Regions from separate parts of the Homo sapiens genome. Here region 1 is linked to region 2. The links are contacts of gene promoters, found by promoter capture Hi-C in human tissues and cell types (Jung and others, 2019). All regions are on one chromosome and are shown on one strand. The core of a region is centred on a gene start or on the middle of the fragment in contact, and the rest is flanking DNA. Distances in the headings are between cores, read along the strand shown. Region 1 has its middle 140 kb from the start of CDH19. Region 2 holds the start of CDH19 (cadherin 19).

Region 1 (6,371 bases), core at 577-3,076, 140 kb before region 2:
TATTCTTGTATCTATCCATTTATCCCTGTGTGTGTATTTTTTCCAGTAGCAGTGATTTTAGCCTATTCAGTGCTTGTATATAATATAAATAAGTTCAAAACAATGCAGTAGAGAGATTCTATAAAGCACTTAAAGAAGTCTTTTGGCTAAATGAGGTTCTTGGCATCCTGTTATGCTCAGAAGAAATGCTAGTTGTTTGGTAAACCTTTTAATATAAGGGAGAACATATGGTTACATCACAAGCAATAATATTTGAGCACATCTCTAAAATGTTTTTCATATAAACATTGCATTAAGAATGGTGTTTAATATTATTTTTATCATTCAAACAATTAAACTAATCACTTCTAATAACACCAGTACACTATATTTGATTTTAACTAAGCAGCAAGTGTACTCCTGAGTTCTTTTATGAAACTGTAATTCTATCCCCAAAAGTAGGAGGCTGAAGGATAAGTCAACTACCATGGTTAAGAAAAAAAAAATTCCTCATTAAGTTGTACAGACAAATTATTAACATGCTTTTGTGGCGTGAAATTAGATGATGATGTGGTATAATTGAGACTGTCGACATCTCCTATAAATATAGCAATAGAAGATAGAATACGGATAGTTTCATTACATACTGAACCTTTGGACACATGCATGTCCAAATACATATCTACTATATGCTCATTATAGTCTAGAGTGGCTTTGATCCAAGGTTCACAATCTAACAGTTATCCCCAGGTCTCTTACCTCCCAAAGATCAAATGGAGTTGAACACTGGTAAGCAGATAGTTCAGTTGAAAACTGCAACAGATCATAAAGTCACAAGATAGTGCTGAGTCAAATAGATTCAATCCAATTTATTCCTGTTCTTTTGTGTGAAGAGCTTATAGGAAATGACTTAAACCATTCTTTACCCTTGGCAGCTGCTAAACTCCATGTGGCTTAAATGAGAGATATTCATGTTGGTTTCATTTTCTCTCAGCTATTTCATGGAACACCTACATTCTTTCTTTGCTGTCATAGTTTGTGAAAAAACATTAATGGTTAGGAAAAATGCTTACCATTGCACATTTTTTGGGAATTTAACAAGGAGCACAGAAAAGCACAGAAATAGAAGAAAACAAAATGTGTTGAATATTAGTAAAAAATGGAACAGGAAATTAAAAATGGTGAAATGACAGTGTATAAAAATGTGCAAGGTAAAGAGGGATATAAAAGAAGGAAGAAGAATGCACACTATTTGTTTGTGCTTTGTATCTGTAACATCATACAGATAATACAAGTAAATAAAATTAACAGTTCCAAGATTAAACTTGCTTCTCAAAATGGTCAACATTCTGAAATCTAGTATCTTCTCCTTCAGAAATTCCTTTCCCCTCATTTTCTTTTCATTTTCATAAGGTGAAGTTTTCAAAAATAAAATAAACTGTTAATTTTGGGATTTCCTAAGTGTGGTCTGGCCTGAAGATGGCATTGTTGGAATACATCAACTCTTTGGATCCCGATAAAATGTTCAGCATACCAGCTCTTCAGTGAGGTGGGAGCGTTTTGTTCTGGGCCTTCTAGGATTCATCTGTGGTACCTAACCTCCAAGCTTTTCAGAACAAACTTTCAGCAGCAGGAGAACATTGTTACTTTTCTTTACCCTGTATTTGGAGTGGAGTGGCATGCCACAGATCAGAGATTCCCTATAGTTGGATTTGTATTAACTAAGAATCTTGTGACACATAAGGTTTTCAAATTTTATTGTGATAAAAATATTAGCAATCACCAATTTCATGTTTTAAAGAAAAAATTCTTTTTTGGAAAATCAATCACTTAAGTAAACTTTTTAAAATTTTTAATTTTTATTATATTTATTTATTTATTTATTTATTTATTTATTTATTTAGGGACAGTCTTGCTCTGTTGCCCAGGCTGGAATGCAGTGGCACGATCTCAGCTCACTGCAACCTCCACCTCCTGGGTTCAAGTGATTCGCCTGGCTCAGCCTCCCGAGTAGCTGGGACTACAGGCGCGTGCCACCACGCCTGGCTAATTTTTGTATTTTTAGTAGAGACAGGGTTTCACCTTATTGGTCAGGCTGGTCTTGAACGCCTGACCTCGTGATCCTCCTGCCCTGGGCTCCCAAAGTGCTGGGATTACAGGCGTGAGTCACCGTGCCCGGCCTTTAATTTTTAATTTTAGTTTTTGTGAGTACATAGAGGGCGTATATATTTATGGGGTACATGAGCTGTTTTGACACACACACGCAATGTGTAATAATGACATCTTATAAAATGGGGTACCCATTCCCTAGAGCATTTATCCTTTGAGTTACAGAGAATCCAATTATTCTCTGCTAGATATTTTTTAATGACCAATTAAATTATTAAACTGTTTTTTAAATACATGCAAACATTAGGACTGATAAACTTACAAATTTAAAATTAAAGACAGTTTTTCAAATTGAATGACACTTGTATTGGTGTTAGTGTTGCCAGTTGAAATATGAGACTCCAGTTAAATTTGAATTTCAATTTAATACTTGGGACACAGTTATTCTAAAAAAAAAAAACCTGTTGATGATAATTTGAAATTCAAATTTATCTGGACACGAACCTTTACTTTTATTTGCTAAATCTGGCAACTCTAACTGGAGCGTAATTTAGTGGTGTACCTACTAAGCTTTATTTGCAGGTAAGCGTTTTGAAATGATGATCACATAACACAAAGTAGAAACTGACATACTAGCAACCCACACTGTGACATGACTGACATTTTTCTTAAGATTCCCAGGTACCTAATTTTCTCAAACTTGTGTTTTTAAAGAAAATTTAAAGTTGGTTTTGATATGATTATAAAAATAGTACTTTCAAAAACAATGAACTGAAAAATGACTAAAAATAAGAATTGAGTAATGTGTCCAAATACAAAACAATTAAATGTGTATATATTCAAATTTGTTTGTGAGAATAAATGTAGGTAATTGTGAAATGAACTGTGAAAACGGATGATGAAGGTTGACTTGCCATGCCAGAATTAATCTTATACTGACTTATAGAAAGAATAGAATCCAGAAACAGATCCATGCAATATAACTCTATGGTGAATTTTTTTTAAGGTGAAGAAATGTCAGAGTTGGGCCTGGCGTGGTGGTTCATGTTTGTAATCCCAGCACTTTGGAAGGGCAAGGTGAGAGAATAGCTTGTGTCCAGAAGTTTGAGGCCAGCTTGTGTAACATAGTAAGACCTCATCTCTAAAACAGTTTAAAAAATTAGCCAGGGGTGTGGTGTGGCATGTGCCTATGTTCCCACAAGTTACTCAGGAGGCTGAAGTGGGAGGATTGCTTGAGCCCAAGAAATCAAGCCTGCAGTTAGATATGACCATGCTACTGCACTCCAGCCTGGGCTACAGAGGAAGATGAGGTCAGAAAAAAAAAAAAAGCCTTATTAATTAATGGCTTATAATGAATTGAATATCTATTCTAAAATGACAGTAAGCATACACACAACTTAGAGTTTATTTCTTTATAAAAAATAAGTTTCATGAAACGAATATTACACTTTCAAACAGTAAAATAATGTGTTGAATGTGGAATTGAAATCAGCTGAGGAATACAGGATTAATCGTCATTTTAAATTCTTACTGATTATTAATTTTATAACTTTTGTGTGACATAAAAATAATATACACAGGGTTTTTCAAAATTAATAAAACTTTTAAAAGTCAAAGGTAATGAAATAACAGTAAAAAAGAAATAGGAAAATAAATTTGTAACATATGCATTATATCCTTAATGACATAAATGTAAAAAAAAAATCAGCTGTGTTTCAGGATAACATTTGTAACTTTTAAATATACTGAAAGAGCCTACAGGAAAAAAAAGTACTCTAATAAGTTGTTAACTAGAAAATTATACAACTTATTTTGAAGAGGAATCTGACAATAAAGATAAACTATTTAAACATATATGCTAAATAACAATTAGATAATGTACTAACATATATAAAAAATCCATTGCAGGGATTTCATACTAAAGAACAATTTAGATTTTTCTAAATGTGGAATAGATATTTTATTAACTCTAATAAATAATTTGTAATATCTCTGCATAATGGCGTAGTAAGCAGACTGTATAAAAATGAAAGAGAACTAAATGTATTGACTTCAAAAACAAATAGTAACCTATTGCATTGTGAAAGAAGTAGATACAGCATTATATGTATGGCATGATCCCATTTATTAAAAAGATTACACAATATAATCAGACACTGATATACATAATGAGAGAAATAAAGTATCATATATACCAAACTCAGGTTGTTCCAGTGGGTTTGGTAATGTGCAGACCTCCCAGACAATATAACATGTGAAAGATGCACATAAAATGATGTTAAAAGTGAATTTGTGCCATTTCCCAATGCCTTTCAAGGTCCTCAAATCAGTGCCTGATCTTTGGTGATTAATGCCTTTGGAGAGGGAAGAGCAAAAAAATCAAATACTTGTAGCCTCTTATAATTTCAGACTGGTTGTGGGGTCAATTCATTTCTTCAAAATCTTTCTATCACTCATTAATTTCTTTCCTTTCTGCACCAAAATTACATATTTCTATTACTTATTGTTGCATCATTATTCTTATAGAATCCCTTATAGAATCCCTGGTTATGGCCTTTTACTAGGATATATTTTCATTATTTTCTTCAAACGCTAAAAAAAATAGATTTGACTAGAGCTTTCTTTTGCCTTGGTGTAGTATTTTCCAATGTGTACCCCTCCTCTGTCATTTATTTTCTATTTTGTCTATGTGGGTGCCTGTGTGTGCCTTTGTCATTCTTCAGCCCTTCTTTCTGATAGTTAATGGTTAAGGAGACTTCAGGGATCTTGCTCAAGAAAGAAGTCACTGGTTTTGCTCCGACCAGTGAAAACTTTGTGTTCTTGTCTCTCACAGAGATCTGATGCTGCAGGCATCCCATCCAGGGGCTGATTTCCTAACGTCAGCAGCTGTTGAGCACATGAACTAATTTCCAGCATTAGGGGCTTATACTGTTTCCTTAAAATTGTGAACCCCATCTGTCTTCCACTCCATTTGATGTTTGCAATGCGAAAAAGGTTTCAGGCACATCTTTTTGTACCACATTACAATCCAAACTCTTCATGCAGTGATCATAAAGTACATCTATAAATGCTTACCCTCGGAGTCAGATGTTAAATTCTTCAAATAAATACCAAATGATTGTGCACACGGTCCCAGCATTTCTATTTGAGGTAGAAGCTAAAACACACGCACAACTTTTACATTTCCTTCCATTTACATAAAAGAAATAGTACAGAAAACATACAAATACTCTTGATTTGTTAGGCATCTGATATAGGTGAGAATCTGTCAGTATAAATTGAGTGATAGTTCTAATAATTTCTATTTATTCCAAAAATTATCTTGTACGCATTACTGGTCTATGAATAATTTTTAGCAATAGAAATGCATAATTACATTCATCATGAGATGAGCAAAGGAAGATGCCAGAAAGTATCTTCCCATTTATTTATTCTCCATATTTCCAACCTTATGAAAAGTTGACTTGCTGTGGAAAAATTAAATGAGTTTCTTATGAATGAAACTCATGCTGCCTTGATTGGCAGTCTGTGTTTCATTCTTTTCCATTTGCAGCAGTGAAATTCCTGGAATATGCAAAAGTAACTCTATAACTCGCTAATTCATTTGTTCACGAATTTATTCATTCAATAAATGTAAATTGGCATTTTTGCTACGTGCCAATGTTTTAAAGACTGGAAAAGCATTAGGGATCAAAAGAGACAGAGCACAGATCTTAAATTCTAGTGAGATGAAACAAATAAACAACTAATAATATAAAAAGTTTATTAGCTATGGATAAACAACAACAACAAAACAGAAAATAATATAAAATGAGGTGTTACATTTTTGTTGCTTTGACCAGAAAAAGCTTCCGTGAAAACATATTTGACTAAATTACAGAAGAAAGTGAGGCTACATATAATGTTAAATTGCGTTCTAAGAAGATGAACATCCAATACAAAGACCCTAGGACAGTGATTCTTAACTGTTTTGATCCCCAGGAGACACTTATCAGTGTCTGGATATATTTTTGGTTCTCACAAATTGAGACAGGGCTTGCTACTGGTATCTAATGAGTAGAGGTTAGGAGTGCACAATACAGTCCCCTACAGCAAAAATTTACCCAGCTCAAAGGATCAGCAGTGTCAATCCTGAAAAAGCCTGCCCTAAAGTGTTAATGTACCTGTCCTTTTCAGATATAACAAGGAGACAGGTGGTGTTAGATCAGAGTGAGAGGAGGAAGGGCAGTCTTAGAGTATGAGCATCTGAGCTCAGAGAGCTAACACTGCACGGAAACAGAGCA
Region 2 (7,011 bases), core at 3,970-6,469:
TATATATATGTATATATACACATATATATGTGGGAGCATGGTGTGTAATATATGCATATATATATATATATATATATACATGCACATATACATACAGTTTTACAATAATGTGGAGTAAAAATAGTTTAAAACACTATGCTTATTTAATATATTAATATTGCATTATTCTCTACTTTTGATTTAAATCTATTATTTTAATTTAAATATATTATTTTAATATATTATTTAAATCTATTGTTTTGATTTAAATTACTATTTTATTGGAAATATGATTTTCATCTTTCTACCAACTACTACTGTCTTTATTATTACCATTAAGCATAGTAACAATAGCAGTTATTATTTAGTAGTAATAAAAATACAGGAGTTGTTATCTGTCAAGAACAATGCAAAGTAACTCCCTTACATTATTACAATAACCCTGTGATTTCTCGTCTCAATAAAAATTTAATTAAATAAAAATTTACTTTATGTAATACATTGGGCTAGGGATTATAATGATAGAAACACAAGACGCTGGTCAACCATGTGTAGTCAAATAAGTGGTTGGTCAGAGTCTTGTCTTTGTATCATTATGACTTGTAGAACAATACATTGCATAAACATAATAGGTGATGATAGACTATAGATAGATACATAGATAGATTAGAGAGATGATAGATGACAGATAACTTCACATCTTTTATAATATTACAATTCTAAATGATGCCAGAGAGAATGTTTATAATGCTGATGTGCATGATCTATAAATTTAAGAAGTAACCAAAATTTTATAAAAACATGGAAACTCTTCCAGAAATTAAATGTTCATATTAATATTGTCCTGGTGAAAGAAAAAGTAAAAGTTAATCTACCGTTTCAAAGAGGTTGGTGCCTAGGTGAGATGTTTCTAATAAATTCTGGTAATATAAACAGAAAACAAGGCTGACATACCTCTACACGTTTATGTCTGAATTTAAGTATTTTGGGTTGTTTGTTTGCATATTGACAATTACTAAATTATTCTTGTAATGAGCCTTTTTTGTTATTTATACATTTATTCATTGTTAATTACTATAATGGATTTCTTCCGTCATGGAGATTATGTTGCGGCTTGGCAAATATACATACATATATATATTTCTTAAATATACTGCTCCAGAGAAAAGTCTTCTTACAAAAGAAAATAAAAACAAAACAACTTTGGGAGGCCGAGGCGGGCAGATCACGAGGTCAGGAGATCGAGACCATCCTGGCTAACACGGTGAAACCCCGCCTCTACTAAAAATACAAAAAATTAGCCGGGCATGGTGGCAGGTGCCTGTACTCCCAGCTATTAGGGAGGCTGAGGCAGGAGAATGGCTTGAACCCAAGAGGCGGAGCTTGCAGTGAGCCGAGATCGCCCCACTGCACTCCAGCCAGGGTGACCGAGCAAGACTCCGTCTCAAAAAACAAACAAACAAATAAATAAATGAATTAATTAATTAATTAAATATAAAAAGAAAAAGAAAAAAGAATGAATACAAAAATAAGAAAATAAGGACATATATATGACAATAAAATTTTTTATTATATTAGACAAGTGGCTACTGTAACTAGAATTTAAAAGATAAATCTTCAAACCATACAAATTGTTGCCATATTCAAGACAATATTTCTTTACTCTGAGCAAAATTTGTGTAATTTTGATACAAAGTATTTTAGCATGGTTAGAAGTATATAGATTAGTGAATATTTTGTTTATTGTTTGTTCTATCATTGTGCATTTTTTTATTTCCCCATATTTATCATTGTGATATATATTCAATGTTAAAAACAGAATGGAAAACACAGCAAATTGGACTGTTGGAAAAGAATGCCATTTAATGGCAATCCATGGAGAAAATTATTATTTTTATTTTCAGCATTTTAAAAGCTATTTTACATGAATATCTGAAGTGAACACTGGACGTCTAGTTGGTTATCAACTAGATTCAACCACTCCACTCTAATTTGGGGAAATGAATCTGTTTTTCTATCAACTAACTCTTTCTCTCAGGTTCAGGAATGACAATTACTTTAAGCTTTTCTTGTTGCCATTCTTTGTTCATGCATGGACAAGTGATCATTTTGATGAATAAGACGAAAGTGACAGTGTTTTTGAGGGCCTTGAGGAAAAGTTGGAGAACCAAACAGAGCCCAAGAACCTAGATAACTGATTGCAGTAGGAAGCCACTGGATCAACTAACCCTTAACCCTACTTTATTTCTCTATGTATACATTGAATTTCTTCATTATTCTATTCATTTTTGGATTTGATTTTGTTTGATTTTGCTATCTGCTTGCTAGTCAATAGATTTCTCATTGATATAGTGATAGCATACAGTAAATATCTGTTTTAAATGTTCTTGTATTAACATATTATAAGCTTTTCCCAAAACAACTTAAATATATTTTTAAGAACTAAAATGCTTCCAGACCATGTGAGAAGGATGTGGTCCTTAGATTATGCTATCCTGACAACACCTGATTGGACAAGGCCTAAATTTCTAATTGAAGGCACATGTATAGCCTATGATATAAAGTAGGTAGACTTAAACTTTCTGGTTAAATGTCTATTTTCAAGGGACAGATCAGAGCTTGCATAATGTTTGACTTTCCATTTCTGCCTGTTCAGTTAAATTCAAACTTCATTAGCCAGTCTTGTCTGCGGTTAGTCATTAGATATATATTTCTTAATTATCTGGTTTAAAAAATTGGTGGCTCTGAATTATAATACTTGAATTCAAATTTTTATTTAGAGTAACTCAATACAATCCTGGCTTCTGCAACTTCAAGCTCTGTTCCTTAGCCTGCTGGCAGGTGATAACTGTGAAATTCCCCCAGACTGCATGTGAAAATAGACCAGAATGTCACTGTGCAGCTATAAAACATCACTTGTGTTTCGGGAATTGTCCATCCTGCCACATGTTTACTGCTGTGGGGACCTCAGATAACTCTGAGTATGATAACTCTGACTTACATATGGATAGTAGTGTATTTAATTTTGAGCTTCTGTTCTTACACAGTCATGTTCCATTTACTATGTATTACCCCCCCATATATGAAAAATTAGTCAGATATATTTCTCTTGTTATAAAGAAAATGACGTAGAAGTAATCATTAAGCTGGGCCGGGTACGGTGGCTCAAGCCTGTAATCCCAGCACTTTGGGAGGCCAAGGCGGGCGGATCACGAGTCAGGAGATCGAGACCATCCTGGCTAACATGGTGAAACCCCGTCTCTACTAAAAATACAAAAAAATTAGCAGGGCGTGGTGGCGGGCGCCTGTAGTCCCAGCTACTCGGGAGGCTGAGGCAGGAGAATGGCGTGAACCCGGGAGGTGGAGCTTGCAGTGAGCCGAGATTGCGCCACTGCACTCCAGCCTGGGCGACAGAGAGAGATTCCATCTCAAAAAAAAAAAAAAAAAAAAAGAAGTAATCACTAAGCTTATCTGATGACCAGTCCCCTAAGTACTTCCAAGTCTTCATTCTTGGTTGTGGCATAGCGGATGAATCTTGCTGGATCCTTGGCTATCGGCTGTTCATCTTATATCCTCTTCCAGAAAGGGCATGCATTTCTTAAGCAATTTACAGCAACTAGTTCCTGTACGTGTTTGATAATAGATTATCTATTTAATAAAATCAGTTTGCTGTTAATGATATTCTACATAAAACATGTAGTTTCACACTGTACCTTCTTTAGAAAATTTAATCCTGTCTCACTGTGGTTTCTATAGTTGCCATTGCTCTTTATTGGTACTGTAATAATCAGGGCAGCAAATTGTGACCCACCTTTGCTCCCTTAGGCTCTAAAATAAGCCTTTGGGACATCATGTTTACAGGTACACTGAGGCTCTAAACTGTGGTTTCAATCCTAAGTGCAACTGGATATTTTATAAACATCAAGATATAAATTGGCATCTCATAAAATGTTAGATTCTTACAGAAATCCTAGACTAGGTCATAGACAGAACAGTGAATTATGTAAATAAATATTTTAAACAGGTATCTCCACCTTTTTTGATACTGTAAAAAATATGAAGGGGGAAATGTATAAGAATACTTCAGAGGTTCTTTGTAAAATTTATTTTTTCCCTATTTACTAACATCTTGAAACACTTAGAAGTGTTTTTTTCTAGCTGAATGCTTTTTTCTACCTGAAAAAATAAAATATTTCCACATTATACTGTTCCTGCTATCCACAGATCTATTCTCCCAGGTTCATCTCTTCAAGATTTGTTCATAAATTATTGATTCCTCCTAATATTCACAACCTCATAGGATGTGCATTTGTGCGTGTGTGTGCATATGTATGTGTGTGCACATGTATGTGTATGCATGTGTGCACATGTGCATGTGTGTATATGTGTGTGCTTGAGTGTCCTACTTTACTGCCCATATAGCTTTTGCCATTTCTTTCCTCAAAAGCTAAGAGGATAGTGACCAAAATATCTATCAGAATTAACAGGATGCTTGAATAATCCTGCCCCACATAGACTTTCTTATTATATAGGTATAATTTAAGAAACTTTTAATATTTTAATGTTTCTCTAGTTTGGTTCAAAAATGGTTTTTAAGTAAATAACAGCTTGAGTAAACAGCATAGAAAATACATATGTATTTTATGTTAAATAATAATAGCTTATATCAAAATCTAATTATAACCATGAATAAAATAAAAGATTTTACATAATAATAAACCAAGGAAAAGAAAAGGACTTATTAAAGTTTAGACATTTCTCTCTCATTATGTCTTTACTTGATTTCTGAGGAGAAATGACCGAATTAAGAAACAGCCATGAGGCATAGACACACAGTGGAAAATCATTTCTCTTTTCAGTAAGTTTTGGGTCTGCTTTAAATTGATCATTTGTTTCATCAGCTAATCCCCAAACAGAGGGCACGTCCGCTCTACTTGCAAAATTCTTGTATGTAAGTTGAATTCTCCCTTTATCAACTCAGGCCAATAAGTACTTTATTTTGTTTTTGCTTGTTGTTAGGGGAAAAAAAAAAAAAACAAAGATAATCAGCTCATACTACTTGCGTAGCTGTCTGCATTTTAATTCCAGACTATGAACGAGCGTCAGAGTGCCCTTATGATATTTTGCACAAAAGGCTCAGTGTTTATGACTCTACTCAGAGAACCCAAAATAGCATTGAGTAAGCAGTGACATACTGACAGTGTTGTGGTACTAAAAGCACAAGCGTCTGTAACTCTGGGCAATGGGGCACATCGAGAGTTTGCTGAGAAGACTGTGAAGCAAAAAGAAGAAAGTTTTTCCTACTCTTCCTTATGTGTCCAACACGAAGTTTGCTGTTCAGTTTTCACAGAACTTCTAGAAGTTGAAGTTACAAAGGTAAGACTGTGATAATCAGGCATATTATAAACTACATGCATCATCTTTAATGAGTCAATAGGTCAAAAAGTACATGACAAAATGTTGCTAGGAAAATATTCTAAAAATATTAAGGAAAATATTTACATAGGAAATAAGGAAAATATTCTAAAAATTTTAAAACCATGATGTGTACTTGTACTGAACTTTCTCAAAACACGTATTTGTGAGAACAGTTCTCCATCTCTGTAATACAGATTGTTGGTGTTGGGGGGAAGTTACACCTATGTTAGGATATTTAAAACTTCTCAAGTTTCTTAGAATAAATGAATCAACCTTTCTTTGCATGTCTTTCTTTGCACTTTTTTCTTTGTTCAGGGTTTTATTTTTTATTTATCATGTATTTACCATGTATATCAGGTAATATGAACAATAGAGTTGTCATCATTAAGTATATGAGAAAAAATATATACAGAATAAATATGAAAAATTTTAAGTATATTATAATTCCAAAAAAATTAAAATATTAGCATTGCTATGAATAAAAACACATATATGCCTAAAATTGTACAGGCATATTAATTTACCTATATGTATTATAACATTTATACATAACACAAAAGGTAATTTCTCAAATATGAAAGTATAAATTAAGAAAAGTATAAATTAGGAAAATGCATACTGTAAAAGACATTTTATATTGTTTCAATTCTAATTTGGTACATGCAATTTTAATTGAATAACTAATTATAATAAAATATTTCAAAATAAGTTTACCAAAGGGATTTAATAAATCTATTAAATATAAAAACATAAAATATTTAGCAACAAAAAATACCTAAATAGAGTGGCAAAGGTTTTCTTTAGATTATGTCAATTTATATTTTAGCTCTATTAATTCATTTGTTGAATTAATATATCTGTAAGAAAGACATTATTTAGATAAAATATTTGAAAATTTAGTAATATATATTTATGTTTTAGATGTAGTTACAATATTAAGTAAAATTATATGCATTAATATATTCTTTTTTCAAATTCTTAATATTGTAATTATCAGCAGTATGCCTACTTACTATAATTTTTGATTTCAAAGAATTTAAATTTCAATGTAATGTGAACATTTATATTGACCAAATAAAATAACTAACAATTTATTTTTAAAAGGAATAAGCATTTCATTATTGTCTGCAATTATTCAAAATTTTTAAACAATCAATTTATGTCATTTAGAAACCACCAGATCTCCTTTCCTTTACATATGTTTTCCACTTTACCAAGCCTTTATAACAGTGAACGAAATGCTCATATCATTATATAAATATCTGATTTTTACAGTCTTACACATTAGTAAATTCTTTACTTAGGCTCCAGTGAAATATTTATAATTTTAGGCACACACAGACACATCTGCATATATCGAAAAGCATATGTCTTCTACTTATATTTTTTGTTTTGTTTTGTTTTTCACTTAGGAATGTTTGTAAGGTACATTTCCTCAAGAAACATAAAAAAATTTTTGATTAAATTATCATAAATTGAAGATGCTTTAAAATGATGTGCACAGATGCCTCCTATGCATTATTAAGAAACCAGATCCATCTTTCAGGAATTTCTCCTAATACAGCTACATATAATCTGATACATATCATCTATAACTAAATATCAACTGATCAT

Evidence for each region. The method cuts DNA at HindIII sites, captures the fragments that hold promoters and counts their contacts. A contact is called where the count stands out against the background at its distance.
Region 1: a contact is called between a fragment that was not itself captured here and the fragment with the promoter of CDH19 in region 2, in 1 of the 25 tissues and cell types used here (dorsolateral prefrontal cortex).

The regions. Positions count from the first base shown.
Region 1 is chr18:66,744,359-66,750,729 of GRCh38, reverse strand. No RefSeq gene overlaps it. Among named protein-coding and RNA genes, the nearest start is that of CDH19, 140 kb to the right of the region's middle. The HindIII fragment of the contact is 4,942 bases long and covers 1-4,297 here.
Region 2 is chr18:66,602,298-66,609,308 of GRCh38, reverse strand. CDH19 (cadherin 19) reads left to right here and starts at 5,219. Exons shown (of 12, transcript NM_021153.4): 1 at 5,219-5,355. The HindIII fragment of the contact is 13,282 bases long and covers 2,917-7,011 here.